Linked DNA regions of Homo sapiens: regions 2 and 3 are each linked to region 1. Evidence: promoter capture Hi-C in 16 types of primary human blood cells and fetal thymus (Javierre and others, 2016). All regions are on one chromosome and are shown on one strand. The core of a region is centred on a gene start or on the middle of the fragment in contact, and the rest is flanking DNA. Distances in the headings are between cores, read along the strand shown.

Region 1 (5,133 bases), core at 1,234-3,733:
CCATGAACATTAATTTAAATAAAGTGATTGCCAGGATTGTCCACATGCTTTTGCTATCTCTACACAGTGAAATTATACTGGGTCGTAGCAAAAGAGAATTTGATTTTCCAATCAGTTTTAAATTAAAATAAAACATAATTGAAGCTAACAGGCTAATTAGTTGCAGAGATATGGTAAGAAATAAAGGGAGACAAGTTACTCAATAGTTACTAGAAATTAGTATCATAATACAAATGATAATGAAGGTAAGCCATTCAATTTATAGGGATTTTACATGCTTAGGAAAATTCCTTTCCCAGTCAACAAATGACAAAACATAAACTTGCAAGCTATGTGTTAAGTTGGTGCAAAAGTAATTGTGGTTTGCTATTAAAAGTAATTAATAAATAAGAATATTAATAAATGGGCATATTGTAAAAAGAAATAATAAAGTGCCAGGATTTGAAAAGCCAAGTGCATCTATGCAAGCCAATTTTTAAAGTAATGCAATTTATGCCAGAATTCCTTGTTTTTCCATTAAAATGAATACTGAGAGGACTTTTGTTTAATTGTACAGCAGATGCGGGTGCAACGCAAGTTCAAGACAAGTTTCTGGGTTGGTTTATGTGGACTTGGGTTAGCTGCTTGGTGATCAATATGGCTTTGTATTCATAGAATCCCATGGGGTTTCTGGGTGAAGACCTTGACCTTGTTCCTCTGTCAGATTTAAATAATAAGAATGATGCTGGCCGGGTACGGTGGCTCACCCCTGTGATCCCAGCACTTTGGGAGGCCCAGGTGGGTGGATCACTGAGATCAGGAGTTCGAGACCAGCCTGGGCAACATGGTGAAACCCCCTCTCTACTAAAAATACAAAAATTAGCCGGGCGTGGTGGCACGTGCCTGTAATCCCAGCTCCTTGGGATGTTGGGAGGCTGAGGCAGGAGAATCACTTGAATTCGGGAGGTGGAGGTTGCAGTGAGCCGAGATTGTGCCATTGCACTCCAGCCTGGGCAACAGAGCGAGATTCCATCTCAAACAAACAAACAAAAGAATGACACTAAAAAATTATGTCCTCTTGCCAGGTCAGGAATTACGAGGTTTCTAGGCCTTTCTTTACCTCCTTTGGATTCCTGGCAGGAACTCAAGAGAGAGAGCAGGTAAACAGATTCCAACTTCTAGCAGCAGGGCATTAGAAAACTTGTGGTCCCTTTGTGAGCGCTTGCGCCCTTAGAAAAGTATGGCTTGAAACAGGGTTTCTCTTATCTTTTACAAGCCTTTTTCCTCAAGCATTTGAATTCTGGTAATGTTCAAAATACTGTTAAAAAATTATTCTGACAGTATGCAAGTGATGGGCCTGACAAAAAAATTATGGGACACTTCTTAAAATGGTAAGGAAGACTTTGTTCATGACTACTGCAATAGGTATCACAACTATTGCAATACAGCCTGGCATGGTGGCTCACATCTGTAATCCCAGCACTTTGGGAGGCAGAGGCAGGAAGACTGCTTGAGCCCAGAAGTTTAAGAGCAGCCTGGGCAACACAGGGAGACCTACTCTCCACAAAAAATAAAAATAAATTAGCCGGGAGTGGTGATGCACGCCTGGAGTCCTGGGTACTCTGGAGGCTGAGGTGGGCCGATCTCTTGGGCCCAGGAGTTTGAGGCTGCAGTGAGCCATGATAGCGCCACTGCACTCCAGCCTGGTGACAGAGCAATACCTTTTCTCATAAAACAAAGACTATGGCAATAGGGGTGAGTGATGGGTCTCAACTCTGAATACAGCAGGGAATTTATAGTAAATGATCAGAGTGAATGGATCAATGGGTGGAAGATTACCAAGAGTAGACATGAAGGGTAGGGGTATTCTTGCTAAAGCCAATTTAACAGGATTTTTGCTGGTGGCAGAGTGATCAGATATCAAGAGTGGGGTTGAGGAATTCGATCGGATATTGAGGGTGATTCGATATTAAGGGTGGGGGAGTTCTTACTAAACTGACTTAACTGCATTCTTACCACAAATGGACTAGGCAGGTCAAAGACGACCCAAGGAGGAGACCCAGTCAAAAACAGCTCAGAGGAGCCTCCTGACTAAAGTTTGGTCAAGGAGAGAGTCTTTGTCAATACCCAGCTGGTTCTCCCTTTGTACCACCATGTGGCGCCCTTCACCCCATTCCTTCAGCCCTTAAGGCTCTTTTAAAACAAAATAATCAAATTCAAGTTACGGAAATTCTAGGAGGGGCGGTCCCTCCCCCTTCCTAGTTGCGGAAGGCAACGGACTACAAGTCCCCTACGCTCTCGCGGGGCTATGATCCGCCCGGCCCTCCCCACATTCCGGAGTTTCGCGCCTGCGCAGAAGGCAGAAGGTCCTGCGCTGAGAGAAGGGGGCGGAGACAGGACTACGCGCCTGGAGTAGGAGAAGGAGGAAAAAAGAGACCATAGACTTCCATCCTGGCCTAGAGCGGCCCTTAAAGTGCCAGGGAGAGGAGGGCGGGTGGGGACCACTCCAGAATTGGCCGCTGGCGGTATCATGGCGACCCGGAACCCCCCTCCCCAAGGTGAGCGGCCAGGGCCCGAAGTGGTATCTGGGACGCGGCTCACAGCTCTCGACCTTGCTCCTATGGCACCTCTTCCTTCCCCTGCCCTAGGATTCTTCGAGCTCCATTTTTTTTTTAAGGCAGCCCCTTCGAGCACCCCCTCCGAGCTAGACTTTTTCCTCCCCTCTCTGCGGAACTCAAGCGGAGAGCCACCCCCACCCCCAGCACAGCCCTACCTGCCTCCTGCCTTACCTTCACCTCCGGCCCTTCATCTCCCATCTTCAAATGTATTATTTTCTTTTTTTAAACGTCTGGACTCAAGTGATTTCGCTGAGCTCCAGACTAGTTCTCTCAGGAGGACCCCTCCCCACCCCCATTCCTCCCACTGATGAAAATGGACCCTGCTCTGACCTTGACCCTACTAAGGTTTGGAGGTGGGGGTGACCCCTCACTACTGTGTCATTCTGAGTTGGCCCTGGCTTCGTGACCCCAGGCTGGTCCCCGGGCCTTTGGGAAAGCAGATGGGGGTCATTGTTGCAGGGTCCTTTACTCTTGAGGCCCTGGTCTCAAGAATTGAGTTAAATAAAGTCAGTAGTTTCTATGTGGGCATTTTTAGCTGTAGGCCAGAACTAATGAGTTGTAACAGATTTTTAAAAAGATGTATAGAACATTTCTGACTTTTGATTGACTCTACATTTATTTTTTGCATTTTGCTATTTTGAAGACTATGAAAGTGATGACGACTCTTATGAAGTGTTGGATTTAACTGAGTATGCAAGAAGACACCAGTGGTGGAATCGAGTGTTTGGCCACAGTTCGGGACCTATGGTAGAAAAATACTCAGTAGCTACCCAGATTGTAATGGGTGGCGTTACTGGCTGGTGAGAACAACGTCTTTTTCATTAAATTTCATTTGGGGGCCTGACACTGCTGTCCTTTCATACATGGGCAAGAATCACCGTGCACAGGCAGTAGGTCTACACTGTTAATTCCAGAAGAGGCTTTTCTCTGAGTTAAAATTGATGTAATCTACATTCCCAGGCTCCCTGTTGAGTTTTGGCGATCCCCTCCCCCATGCCCACCACTGTTCCTCTTCTCCCTCCTCATCCTTCTTTTGATTCTTTATATAATTTCCCCATTCTCATGTTCAGCAAATGTCGTGGATCTGATTCAGTGATAGTAGATAGGAAGAAATATATGAGTTAATTATATGTAAATTTTTACATTTCATTCAGTGCTAACTGCTGAAAAAACCTAAGAAACTCCCACGGTAGAACTGGCCTCTAGTATTGTCAGCCCTGTACAGAGCAGTGTAAAATGCTCAGTATGAATTATTGGTGATGATACAGATGATTCTGTTTTTTGTGGGCTCGTTCAGATTATGATAACTCTTTGAAAAAGAGCTGTAGAACGTTAATTCTGTGTTTAAAGGTCTGATTGCTTACTTGATAATATTGTGGAGTCCATTAAGAAGTAGTTAATAACCATCAGCCTGACCAGTTAACATTTCAGACCACGTGATAACACAATGGCTACTGTGGATCTAATTCTGTTCTTATAATAAAAAAACTAGCCAGATAACAAGGGGCAGAAACAAATTTGACTGTTTTGAAAATGTTCGTGACTGTAGAGAAATTTTGGAGTTAGTGAGGGTACTTAACTTGTGCATAAGCGTTTTTTCTTAGATTCTTATTTAAATTCATCTTACATAGATTTAATTGAAATATTTACCTGTTTCCACTTGATAAGTATAACGATGAGTTTTTTGATTTGTGTTTTACATGCACCTTGGAATAATGACCCACTCTTCTATGCCTTTTTTTTTGCAAATGCCATTTTATGATAGAAGTACTCATTGTGAAGATTCTGTGGTGCAGAGGTGCGGCATTTATTCATGATATGTACTTACTAGTGCTGCTGCAGGAAAAAAGCCTGCAATTAGAAGAGAGATGCCTGTCAGGGCCTGGTCATTCAGATAATTCTCCACAGGCTGATAGTTCCTCTAGCCCTGTAATTCAGGGTATGGCTCTGCTTAAATAAGCTCACAATTTGGTTCCATGGGTGATTGGTTAATGTCAGTCAGGGCCTAAAGCCCAGTCTTAAAACAGACTCAAAAATAATTGAGAATAGAATTATCAAGTCATTTCATTGTTTCTCCTTGGAGACCAGACTCCTTGTAGATGAAGCCCCATCATTGGCAGAAGTTTGCTCGGAAAGCCTAGAGACAGAGCAGCAGGAGATAGGTTCATTTTAGTGACTGATGCCATCAAGCAATGGATACACATGCTTGTGGAACACAGTCCAAGGGACATTGTGGCTGCTGCCTGCCTTTTCTGTTCCCTTTTCTGAGCCTTTGTTGCTGACATATATGTATATATACATACACACACACACACACACACACACACACAACACACACATTTGGATTACAGCCAGGTGTTGGTCCAGGAGCTGTATAATACAACTCTAATAATTATACAGGCGATTTGTTGCAATGACTATATTCAGTGTAGTAAATTTTTGCAATTTTCTTAGGATGTAAAACTGATGTGATATTATGGTGTATATTAAGGAGGAACAGTTAATAGGCACTAACCTAACAAGTTAGCAATTTAGA
Region 2 (5,133 bases), core at 1,774-4,273, 510 kb after region 1:
TTGACATTTTCCTACAGAATTTAAAAGATTTTGGGAAAACCATTCCAAAGGACACTCACTTCTTACTCATAAAGATGGCCTAAGGTACCCTTCACAAGGAACTGTGACAATGAGGGGCCTTACAAGCTCAGGCTATAGTTCCCTGAAAGGGACATGAAGTGGGAGACTGAGTTCCGTTTTCTTGGCTCCATGTCCAGCAGCTTCTCTCCACCTGCCTGTGGAATAGGCAATAAGTGCACCATGATGGTGGTAAATTACAAATTGCAAAAATTTGACTATCTCTCCCTGCCACACCCCACCAGCATCCCCCAGTCTGGAACTCAGCCCCAAAACTCCATGCTGATGTTGTGAGTGGTTGCCACCTACCTTTTACTGCATGCACTGCCTCCTAGATGTTCTACAGAGGCCCTGAAAAATGCAGACATTCTATCCTATGGATGCATAGGTCAGGGTTCTAACAAAAAACAGTTGACACGCTCAAAAAAAAGGATAATTAGAGGAGGATTTATTGACAAAGTTAGCATAGGAGAAACACAAAGGAGAGTGCAGTTATCTGTAACTTGTAGCAACCAGCTTGTTACCACTCAGGCTTGACAGCTTGTGGGGAGGGAATGGTTGCTGGAAGAGGGAAGGAGCTGGTGAGTCTTTGAGTTGTCATACAGCCTGCCGCCTGGAAAAGGTGGTTGAGGGATGCCTCTAGCCTAAGGCAAAACAGCAGGAAGGGAGCCAGAGGCATAAATATCCAGATCCCAATTTCCTCTGTCTAACTGATCTTCTGCAGATACTCTTTATGGGTCAAACACAATTGGAAGCCTGAGGGCATGGGGGCCTTGCTGATGCAGTCCAGAACTGCAGTGTCCTGGCAGACAGCAGGGAAAAGAAGTGTGGAGAGAGGAGTTGAGGGGACAAAGTAAAGATATCTAAGTAATGCATTCATTGATGCATCCTGACTGTCCTCGGATCCTTGGAGACATTTGAGTGCATAAAATGCTTCTAAATCACTCATGTAGAACACATATCCGGTAGTAAAACTTTTTGTTCTTCAATGACTGACACTAGTGTAAGTCCTGTGGATAATTCCTTAGCTCTTTCAAATATATTTATTTGCAAATCTCTGTACCTTCCCTCCAGATAGTTAACAGTTGGGGGTGTGTAAGGATTATGTAGCTTAAGGTGTGAAACGTGGAAGTCTCTGCCAGGACCACAGTGTAATTCTGTAACTGACGGGCATACCAGGGAACCGTGTCAATCTCTTAAATGTACTAAGATTTTCACTGACACTGCTAGGGATGTGTGTTTTGTGTTGCTGAACCTTGAAATAATCATGAAAACTTTGCATACAAGTCTTTAACTTTAGATTTCACTTTTGTACCTAGATGTTATATTCCTTCTAGATAACCACACAAAAACACATTTAGATGTCTCACCTACTGCTTTCAATGAAAGCTTAATAAATGTGGGGGAAGAAACCCTCAAGTGTCCTTCAAAAATATCCGGGAAACAAGAGCTCACACCCTTTTCTGAAACAAAGTCGAGTAAGGCACACATCCAATTCTGTTCCTTTCACCTGCTGAACTACAGCAATACGGCCATATCCCTGAATGGCCCCCTAAGAAACTCAACAAGTAACAGGCAAGCTCTGCCATGTTTATCACCTACAGTGATAAATATGCTACCGTAAGGTGATTGTCCCTTGTTGCCTTGCTGCAGAAGTTCAGGATTACTAGGTGATGACATCAGCAGAAGGAATCAAATATTGTATTCAAAATTGGAGTTGGAGTAGGATTAAACTGGATGAAGATAACATGCAAAAATGTCACATTCTGCACATACATATGGTCCTAAGGCACTCTCTGTATGCGTAATGTCCATAATGTCCGTAGATATCAGGCATCATCTAAGAAAAGATTGTTAGTGTTGTGGGACATTCAGATTCAGAATTCTGATGACAGATAATGTGTCATTTGTTCTTTAAGCATGTATGGAGTACTTTTGTCCCCAGCATTGTCCTATCTAACAATGGGAAATGCCAAAGAAGGAGACTACATTTGCTCTAAGGAGACAAGGGGTAGATTGATGGTCAGGAAATATACTCTCAAAACACACGGAGCAAAGAAATAAATGCATGTGGGAGATGCAATCTTTCCGGCCTCAGAAATGTAAAGTCAGTGTGAGTGAACTAAGTCAAAAGAAGTATTGAGAACAGCAGATATGGATGAACACAATGTACATGGATGGAAAGTGGTGGTAGAAAAATGTGTGTGTGTGTGTGTGTGTGTGTGTGTGTGTGTGTCTTTGTATGCATTGTATAAAGAATAGGAACTAATAGAGGGCCCTGGGAGCCACTCCCCTTGCCATTCTTCTTCATTGTTTCCTTACAGTTCTTTCAAATAGGCAGCCCCAGTGCCACACTCTCCATGCAAAAGGAAATTGAGTATAACAAGAAGATTAAAGGCTTGTTTGTTTTTTTAAAAAAGGTTCCGGATGGCCATATTCTTTCCTTCATGCAAGCCAAAGGAACATTTCTCAACACTTACCCCTATGCCAACCACAAAGTCCTAAATTTAATTTTCCCCTGAATCCAATTTTTAAAGAAGAGCATATCCAAATGTTACTTAGAAAGTACCAACAAGGTGTCAGCCTGTGGGGTGGCTGGATCACAGAACTTCAGCTTCTCATATCCTCTAATACCTTGTGAGTAGGCCTTAAAGCAAGCAGGAAAACAGTTTTTTTAATTTGAAAAATAGACACAAATGCCAATGCTATGGTAGAATTTGAAAGCTAAAAATAGATGACTAATGTACATATGTATTGCTTTAAAAGATATACATTTTAAATGAAAATTAACACTTAAATAAAAAATATTGCTGCTTTTTGTATATGATATTGATGGTCTGGCTCTTTAATCTAAGTTAGCCAGTCCAAGGATTGGGATTCTTCAGCAAATAAACAATCCAGGGTGGTATAACTAGAACCATGTGTAGAGTCTTTTACTACACATGGGGTGCTTTCTGTTTAATGATTACTCTCCACTGATAGCAGAACTCTCGAGATCACAGGGTATCTTTACTGGCAACGAAGGAAGAAAAGTACTCAGTTTCCCAGAGGATTGTTACACATAGAATTTAGGGAGAAATAAAATGGCGGGTATGTTTTGTATATTATTTGTAATATACAAATAATTAATATTGTTCACTTTCAGTTGCGAATGGACATTTTTAGATGATGTCTTAGTCTGTTCAGCTGTTGTAACAATGTACCATAGACTGGGTGGCTTAGACGGTAGACATTTATTCCTCACAGTTCTTTAGGCTGGGAATTCCAAGATGAAGGTGCCGGCTGATTTGGTTCCCGGTGCAAGCCCTCTTCTGGTTGCAGACAACCATCTTCTCATTATATCCTCACCTGGTGGAAAGATGATGCGTGCTATTGGGGGGAGTCTCTTTTATAAGGGCATTAATTCCTTTTATGAGGGCTTTACCTTCATGACTTAATCACCTCCAAAAGGCCCCACCTCCTAATAACATCATCTTGGAAATTAGAGCTTCGACATATGAATTGGGGGTTGGGGGGAACTCAAACATTCAGTCTGTAGCCTATGGAAAATGAAAGGGAAAAGGTACAAACCAAGTCACTCTACTTAATAACACCTTGTGTATTAAAAAATAATTCTCCCTAGAAATTTGATGGCTTTTACTGATTAGGCTTTCTTAAATTATTGGGACAGAGTTTCTAAAGTTAAGACAGCAAATGAGTGCCTTCGGCTGATACAAAATTGGCCTGTGGACAAGGTTAGAAGTAGGTATGCATTTATAAACATATAATCAGATAAGAAGCAGATAACGTGTTTCCTTCATTCAAGAAGCACATTCCTAGGAAGAACTAGGGCACCACATCCCATACGTACTCAGAGAAACAGCTGTGACAATTAACACTGAGCCAGGCAGAAATGCTTTTTGTGAGGAGTCAGCATCTGGCAATTTACCAGTCTCAGGCTAAGGTTAGAGACCATAATCATTCAAACACATGCCTTAGTTGGTTTCTTGTCCACAAGAATCATGGGCAATAAGATGGCTGGGTGTTATACAAGTGAGATTTCAAATGCAGACATTCCTCTAAACTTCAACTTTAGAAAAGTCGATCCTGCCCTCTGTTCATTCCAGAAAAATGAGTCCCCAATAATTATTTGATAGGACTCAGCAAAGCAGCCAGAAATTTTGATAGGGAGAGAGATGAGTGCTTCATATGAAAAATCATGTAGTGGTAATATTTAGATAGTTTATAGACTATTTCAGTGTTTCCATTTCTATCTTATTGTTTTGAAATGAATATTTAGCCCAGGAATTTCACAGCATGGTTATGTGCTCCTCTACCTTCCCCCCTACCCCCCACCCCCAAGGTTTTTCTCTCACAGATCTGAAGCTCTTGGCAGAAGATCTTCTGAAAATTTGCTTCTGGGAATAATCAAGAGGTGTACTTCAGGTACTACCCATTTGAAGATTCCCAAAATTGTCTCAGGTTATAATACCAGCCCTCAGACTTCCATATTTTACAACTCTGTGTTATTATTATGGGCTTTCAGAAAAGTAAAGGAAGCTTGGGCTGCAGTTTATCAGAAGGTGGCTTTCCTGTCAACGGGGGACCTGCTTGCCACATCTGAAGTTGTGTCATAGGCTGTACAGAACCAGTCTCTGCCCACTCGTTCCCCTGGGAATTTTGGACTTATCTGTAACTAAGTAATATGCTTTTCTTGGATAAGGAATCAACTAATTGCTTATTTTCCTTTGTGTTTTGCAAATCTGACTAATGTTGACTCAGGTAGAATATTATAAAGTTATTTATGCTGTGGGTGATAATTACTTGCAAATACATTTATAGTTAGAGTAAAGCTTCAGCAAGTTTACACAATTCAATTATTGAGCCCCGGGTAATGGCTTCTCCTCCTTCTTTTAAAAAATGTTATTAATTGTTCTTAGTTTACTGTTAATGAAGATGGTTTCCTGAGTCTTACCTCTTCAGCTCATTACACAGATCATCAATGTGGAAAATAGAGACAAGGGTAATTTATATTTCTTTGTGAAATGTAAATCTGTGATGGCTTGAATCTTGTCTTTGGAATGATTTATGTGTAGA
Region 3 (5,133 bases), core at 848-3,347, 300 kb after region 1:
CAGCAATTTTTTAAATTGACCAAATTACATGCGTTATGTTTTGGTATCCTTAAAACCCAAACCAGGACAAAGTCCCATCAATCATTGTGGTTCTGTCAATAATTGTGGTCACATTTCCTCCTTTGTCAATAATTGTGTTCAGTAGAAAACCTGGGTATCTCCACTGTGCAGCACGCAGGAAGGATCTGACAAGCAGCAGCAACACAGCTAGGGGCGTCTCTAGCAGGAAGTCACGGGAGATTTCTAACGCAGTACGCCGCCTTGGTGCTTTAGTACCTTCTCCTGTGTAATGACACCCCAACATATTTTGGGGGAGAAAAAATGGCAGACAAAGAGAAGGAGTTGGCCACAGTCCCAAGAAAGGTACATGGATAACCTTTCTATTTATGTAGAAGTGGAGGGCTTGCTAAAATTCCAAGAGACATTTGAGCTCCTGTGTAAAACTCAATCTCTTAAGATGATTCCTTCATACATTTAAGGATTCTAAGGAGAAGGTGATTCCATAGATTTCTTCTCTTTAATAGTGCAGTGGGACCCCCTCCATCAGACAGTTTGGCCATCCTGCTGGCCCTGGCTTGCCTGCCAGGCTGTAGCATGTCACTCCCTCATTATTTTATGTGAATGAACACGGTCCGGCAGATGGAGGTCTGTTGATCTTTCCTATAGCATGAAGGTTGAAAAAGGCTCTAGGGGTTCCAGCAGGTGTTTCTTTCACTAAAAGGACAGGGATCAAATGTAAACTGTTCTTACGTAGGAATTTCTGCTTTAGGTTATTATTTGTCTATCAGTGGACTTTCTTATTTTTTCTTAGTGGCTGGGACAATGAAACTAGTAACAAGATTGTTCATTCTTGTTGCTGTTGAACACTTATTGGGCTATGCTTAGATTCAACAAAAATCTTAAAGCACCTTTAATTTTGTGGAGTCATTTCTGGCCATCTCTGAATTTTTAGGAACAGCAGGACATTTAAGATGAGTGTTTAATGATTATTTGAGTGAATTGGACACTTAAAATTGCACCAATAGGATAGAATTGGCTTCTGGTCTCATCACATGGCCCTGATGGACCTAACAATTTTGTTTCTTTTGCTTCCCCTATGAAATGAAGATGGTTGAGATGGGAGGATTCTTAAAGATTTTATAGCTCTAACATAATGTGATTCACGAATTTAGGTTTCATTGAAATCATTTGACATGGGTATTGAATACAAGCACAAGTGGATTTACCTTGAAGCTAATGAAGCGTAATCTTTAGAGGTCTTCCTTTCCAGGGGTCCCAATCCAAGGCCCTGGCCTAACTTTGTCTTAGTAATTTGACATTCTTTGCCTAGAAGAGCTTTGCCCAAATTATTTAAGCTTCCAGCCTCCCAAAACCTGTATTCATCTCTAGGCTACTAGAACATAAGCAGTGAACGTTGAGGTAACTGAAGGCTTTTCCCAGTAGTCTTTCCCACTGAGATGGTGAATAGAAAATCACCACGAAGAAGCATTAAGACTCCTTTGTAATATGTATCATCTGTCTGCCAATTTGTTGGAATCTAGTCAACCATGGATGGGCATTCAATATATATATGTTTTGACAAGTCACTTGGAATTAGAGGAATCAGATAATTAAAAGACATATCTGTCTCAGGATCTAGCAGAATGCCAACTTGAGACATTGGGGAAGATGCTTTGTACAAAAATGTATACTTTTTCATTTATTCAATGAATATTTTTGAACACCTAAAACACGCAGGATGCTGGGATGATGGAAAACCAAAGTGAGGAAACTTGTCATTCAGCTGTGAGTCCAGAGCTTTGTGAACGTATGCAAATTACCCAGATAAATGGGATTTAAAGTTGGATCTTGAGCCAGAGTTTCCAAAAAGATGTATGTGGTGGTATAAAAGTCAGGCATGATGGAGTGGAAAAGTTCTCAGCTTTTATACACTAGATGGCACTGTGGGTGCAGAGGAAAGCTCTAAATTGGTTCTTTTGTTACTTAAATCTGTTGCAAAAATTATATGGTTGAGAAAACAACAGTGTGGTATAAGCCCTGTAATTCTAGGGGGAAGTGTAGAATGCAGTCCTAATTACTTTGAGATTCAATATGTGTCCTCTTTTGGTTAGACTGCTTAGATTGGTATGTAGAGTTGTATGTATATGTCTCCTGTTGAAAGAAACTCCTCAGGCCCAGATTTTTAAATAATCACATACAGCTCTCCTGCCATGGCTATGATGTTCTTCCTGAAATGAAAGACCAAACAGTGGTGTGTTAGATGTAATGGTTAGCAATGATAGAGTCTACTGCAATTCTGCCCAATTCCAAGATTTGAACTCTCCTCTTTATTTCCAAGACTTTTCTTTAAAATCACCATAAAAATAGCAATAGTTGAAGCTCACAAGTCACTTCTGTACTGGCACACTGGCTCCCCCCTTTCACTGAGTCACCTTTATAAACATGTCTGCTGTAAGCAGTCTCTGTTAGGATGTAACAATACTCTTTTGGGGATTGTTTTTGGGGAAATTTCACACAAAGGCTGCTAGGAAGTCTAAGGACATATGAAAGCTGAAAATGTTTTCAACAAGAGTTAGAAGTGGCCTCAAGCCCTTAGCCTTTTGATCATCAGTTAAAAAACAAAACAAAACAAAACAAAACAAAAACCAAACAACCACCTTAATATTAAGAGTTAGGTTATCTTGGATGAAAAATTGATCTCCATTTTCTCTTCCGGAGGTGTGCACTAAAATTTGTACTCTTCCTCTATGGGAACTTTGACAGTGGAAAAGGAAATATTTGCTTATGTAGAACTCCTTTCATACAGGATTGAAAACACCTATGTCATACTGAAGCTTGGGGAAGAAGTAGAAAATAGATTCTGTGGGAGTTTGTTTTGTTTTGTTTTAGGAAAGATGTGGCATCTTTTTTTGCCATTTATGTTGGGGACAAACACAGTGACTTGGATAGACCAGGTCAATATGTTCCTTGCTCTGGAGAGCACGGTTGCTTCTGAGATTGTACAGCCTCGCAAATGAGTACCTGAAAGCTCCTAGGCTATTACAAATATGTTACCAGCTCTCTCTCCACCTCTCTTTCCTCACAGATGATAAGTATATAAATAAAATCAACAGTATTTACCGCGTAGCACTCCCTTGGAGAGAGTAGGCAGTTGGCTATTTTAAAAGTTTTTTCTTTTTCTGTTTTGTTTGTTCGCTTCATTGCATTTGAGTGCAATTGTAGTCTTTTCTTGGGCTTAACAAAAGCTACCTGGGGCCGTGGCTGGTGAGAGGAAAGTTCTGTTTTGGTGTTTGTTTTTGAACTACATAGGGAAGTACTATGACCTGGAGTTACTTTGGAGGCAATGGAGGGTACTCAAATACAGGGTGCAGTAGGAGGAGATGGTGGATGGGGAAGGATAAAGGTGAATAGTCAGGAGTAAGTCCTGTTTGGAAAAGAATTTTATTAGTGAGTGTTGACTGAGATAGGAGAGGGCTAAATTACAGGTTAAAATGTGGAACGAGTGGCCTAAAGTTTCAAGTTTGAATTTTCATATTATTGGAAAAATCAGAGGAGAACAAAAAATATTCAGAAATGGGAATGTGATGACAAAATATAAACGTTTACTTATTTGACATAGATTCTTTTTTTTTTTTTTAACTTTTGAACCAATGGTGATTATTAAGTGAGTTCCATGGTTTTTGTAAACATGATTGAAAAGTACTCTCACAGGATTTTGCTGTTTTGTTTGAAAGAGTTTAAAATAGTCTACAAAGATCTCCATGTTCATCTTGAAAACATAACAAACCTTTCAAAACAGCCATAATCAGGGCAAAAAAAATATTGATGTTTTGTTTGCCTTTGTTTTGTTCTAGAGAACTTTACCTCAGTTTCATGCAAGCCTCCTTCTCCTCCTCCAAAAATAGAAAGGAAATTTCCACCTTACAACGGTTTTGGTTCTGAAGAGGATTCTCTCCGTAACTGCATAGACCTCAAGCCCACACCTCATCGGAGGAACTTCAAGAAGTTTATGGAAAAAGACAGGTGCTTGAGGGAACCATGATTTTAGTCTGATCTTTCCCAAATGTGTTTGGGGTTTATAACATAGTTCTCATGACGAAACAGATGTCACGCAGCTCATCTAATTGCAAGTCCAGGGAGACATTATTATAGGCTTTTAATGAGGTTGATTAACATGCACGTATTAACAGGTTCTTACCTGAGTGCTTATTTTAATAAGTATCATCTGGAGGCCCCTAAAGTAATATTATCTCTAGTCTATGTTGCCTTTCCATATCTATCTATATATCTGTCTCCCGAAAATAGGAAAGATGTAGAGTAGGAGTTAACAAGCTCTTTCTTAAAGGGTCAGATAGGAAATATTTTTGGCCTTGTGGGCCATACGGTGTCTGTCACAACCACTCAGATCTGCCTTTGTAGCGTGAAAGCACCACAGACAGAATGTAAATGATTGTGTGACTGTGTTCCAATAAGACTTTTTTTATGGACACTGACATTCAAGTTTCATGTAATTTTTACATATCACAAAATATTACTCTTATTTTGATCTTGCCAACCGTTTCAAAATGTAAAAACCATTCTTATCTCAAAAGTCATATAAAAACAGGTGGCCTGGTAGATTTGGCTCACTGACTGTGGTTTGCCAACCCCTGCTATAGAGATTTCAAGGATTTATACGTGTTTTTAAAAGTGTTATTTGGTGATTAATGTTGTTTTCACTTGAGAGGTTGGTTGAGTTCAGTAACCATAGGTTTCTCACTTGGCTGAATATAATTTTAAATGATGGACTTTCAGAAGTATTCCTAATAGACATGGAGAAAAACCTGCCTGTAAATCATGCATATAGAATGTAGACACTGCCCTCGGCTACTTTTTGCTTCTGCAGGGAGAGCAGGCCCTGGAGAAAGAAGTCAGGGGAAAAGTGGTGGGGAAACATTGTAGGTGCTTGAATAGGATGTGGGCTAAGGGTTACAGTCCTGTGTGAGGGAAATAATGGATAAGGAGATTCTGGGGAGAAGCAGTGATAAAGGGAATGTGGTAAGTCTAGGAGAAGGAGAAGAAAAAGACATCCTGAATTTCATAAAATTGATTGGGGTCAGGTGCTGTTGTAGCACATTTGAAGGAGAGAGAACA

What was found. Contacts are between HindIII fragments. The CHiCAGO score rates a contact against its expected background, and 5 or more counts as called.
Region 2: a fragment that was not itself captured here is called in contact with the fragment with the promoter of FUNDC1 in region 1 in 1 of 17 cell types (neutrophils); the score reaches 6.1 in neutrophils.
Region 3: a fragment that was not itself captured here is called in contact with the fragment with the promoter of FUNDC1 in region 1 in 1 of 17 cell types (total CD4 T cells); the score reaches 5.1 in total CD4 T cells.

What each region holds. Positions count from the first base shown.
Region 1 is chrX:44,540,209-44,545,341 of GRCh38, reverse strand. It overlaps FUNDC1 (FUN14 domain containing 1), which reads left to right and starts at 2,483. Exons shown (of 5, transcript NM_173794.4): 1 at 2,483-2,537; 2 at 3,241-3,397. The coding sequence starts at 2,510. RefSeq lists enhancers at 2,099-2,158, 2,169-2,218, 2,399-2,788. The HindIII fragment of the contact is 14,705 bases long and covers 1-5,133 here.
Region 2 is chrX:44,035,336-44,040,468 of GRCh38, reverse strand. No RefSeq gene overlaps it. Among named protein-coding and RNA genes, the nearest start is that of NDP, 65 kb to the right of the region's middle. The HindIII fragment of the contact is 3,150 bases long and covers 1,449-4,598 here.
Region 3 is chrX:44,241,011-44,246,143 of GRCh38, reverse strand. It overlaps EFHC2 (EF-hand domain containing 2), which reads left to right. Exons shown (of 15, transcript NM_025184.4): 8 at 3,855-4,023. Among named protein-coding and RNA genes, the nearest start is that of EFHC2, 100 kb to the left of the region's middle. The HindIII fragment of the contact is 1,479 bases long and covers 1,358-2,836 here.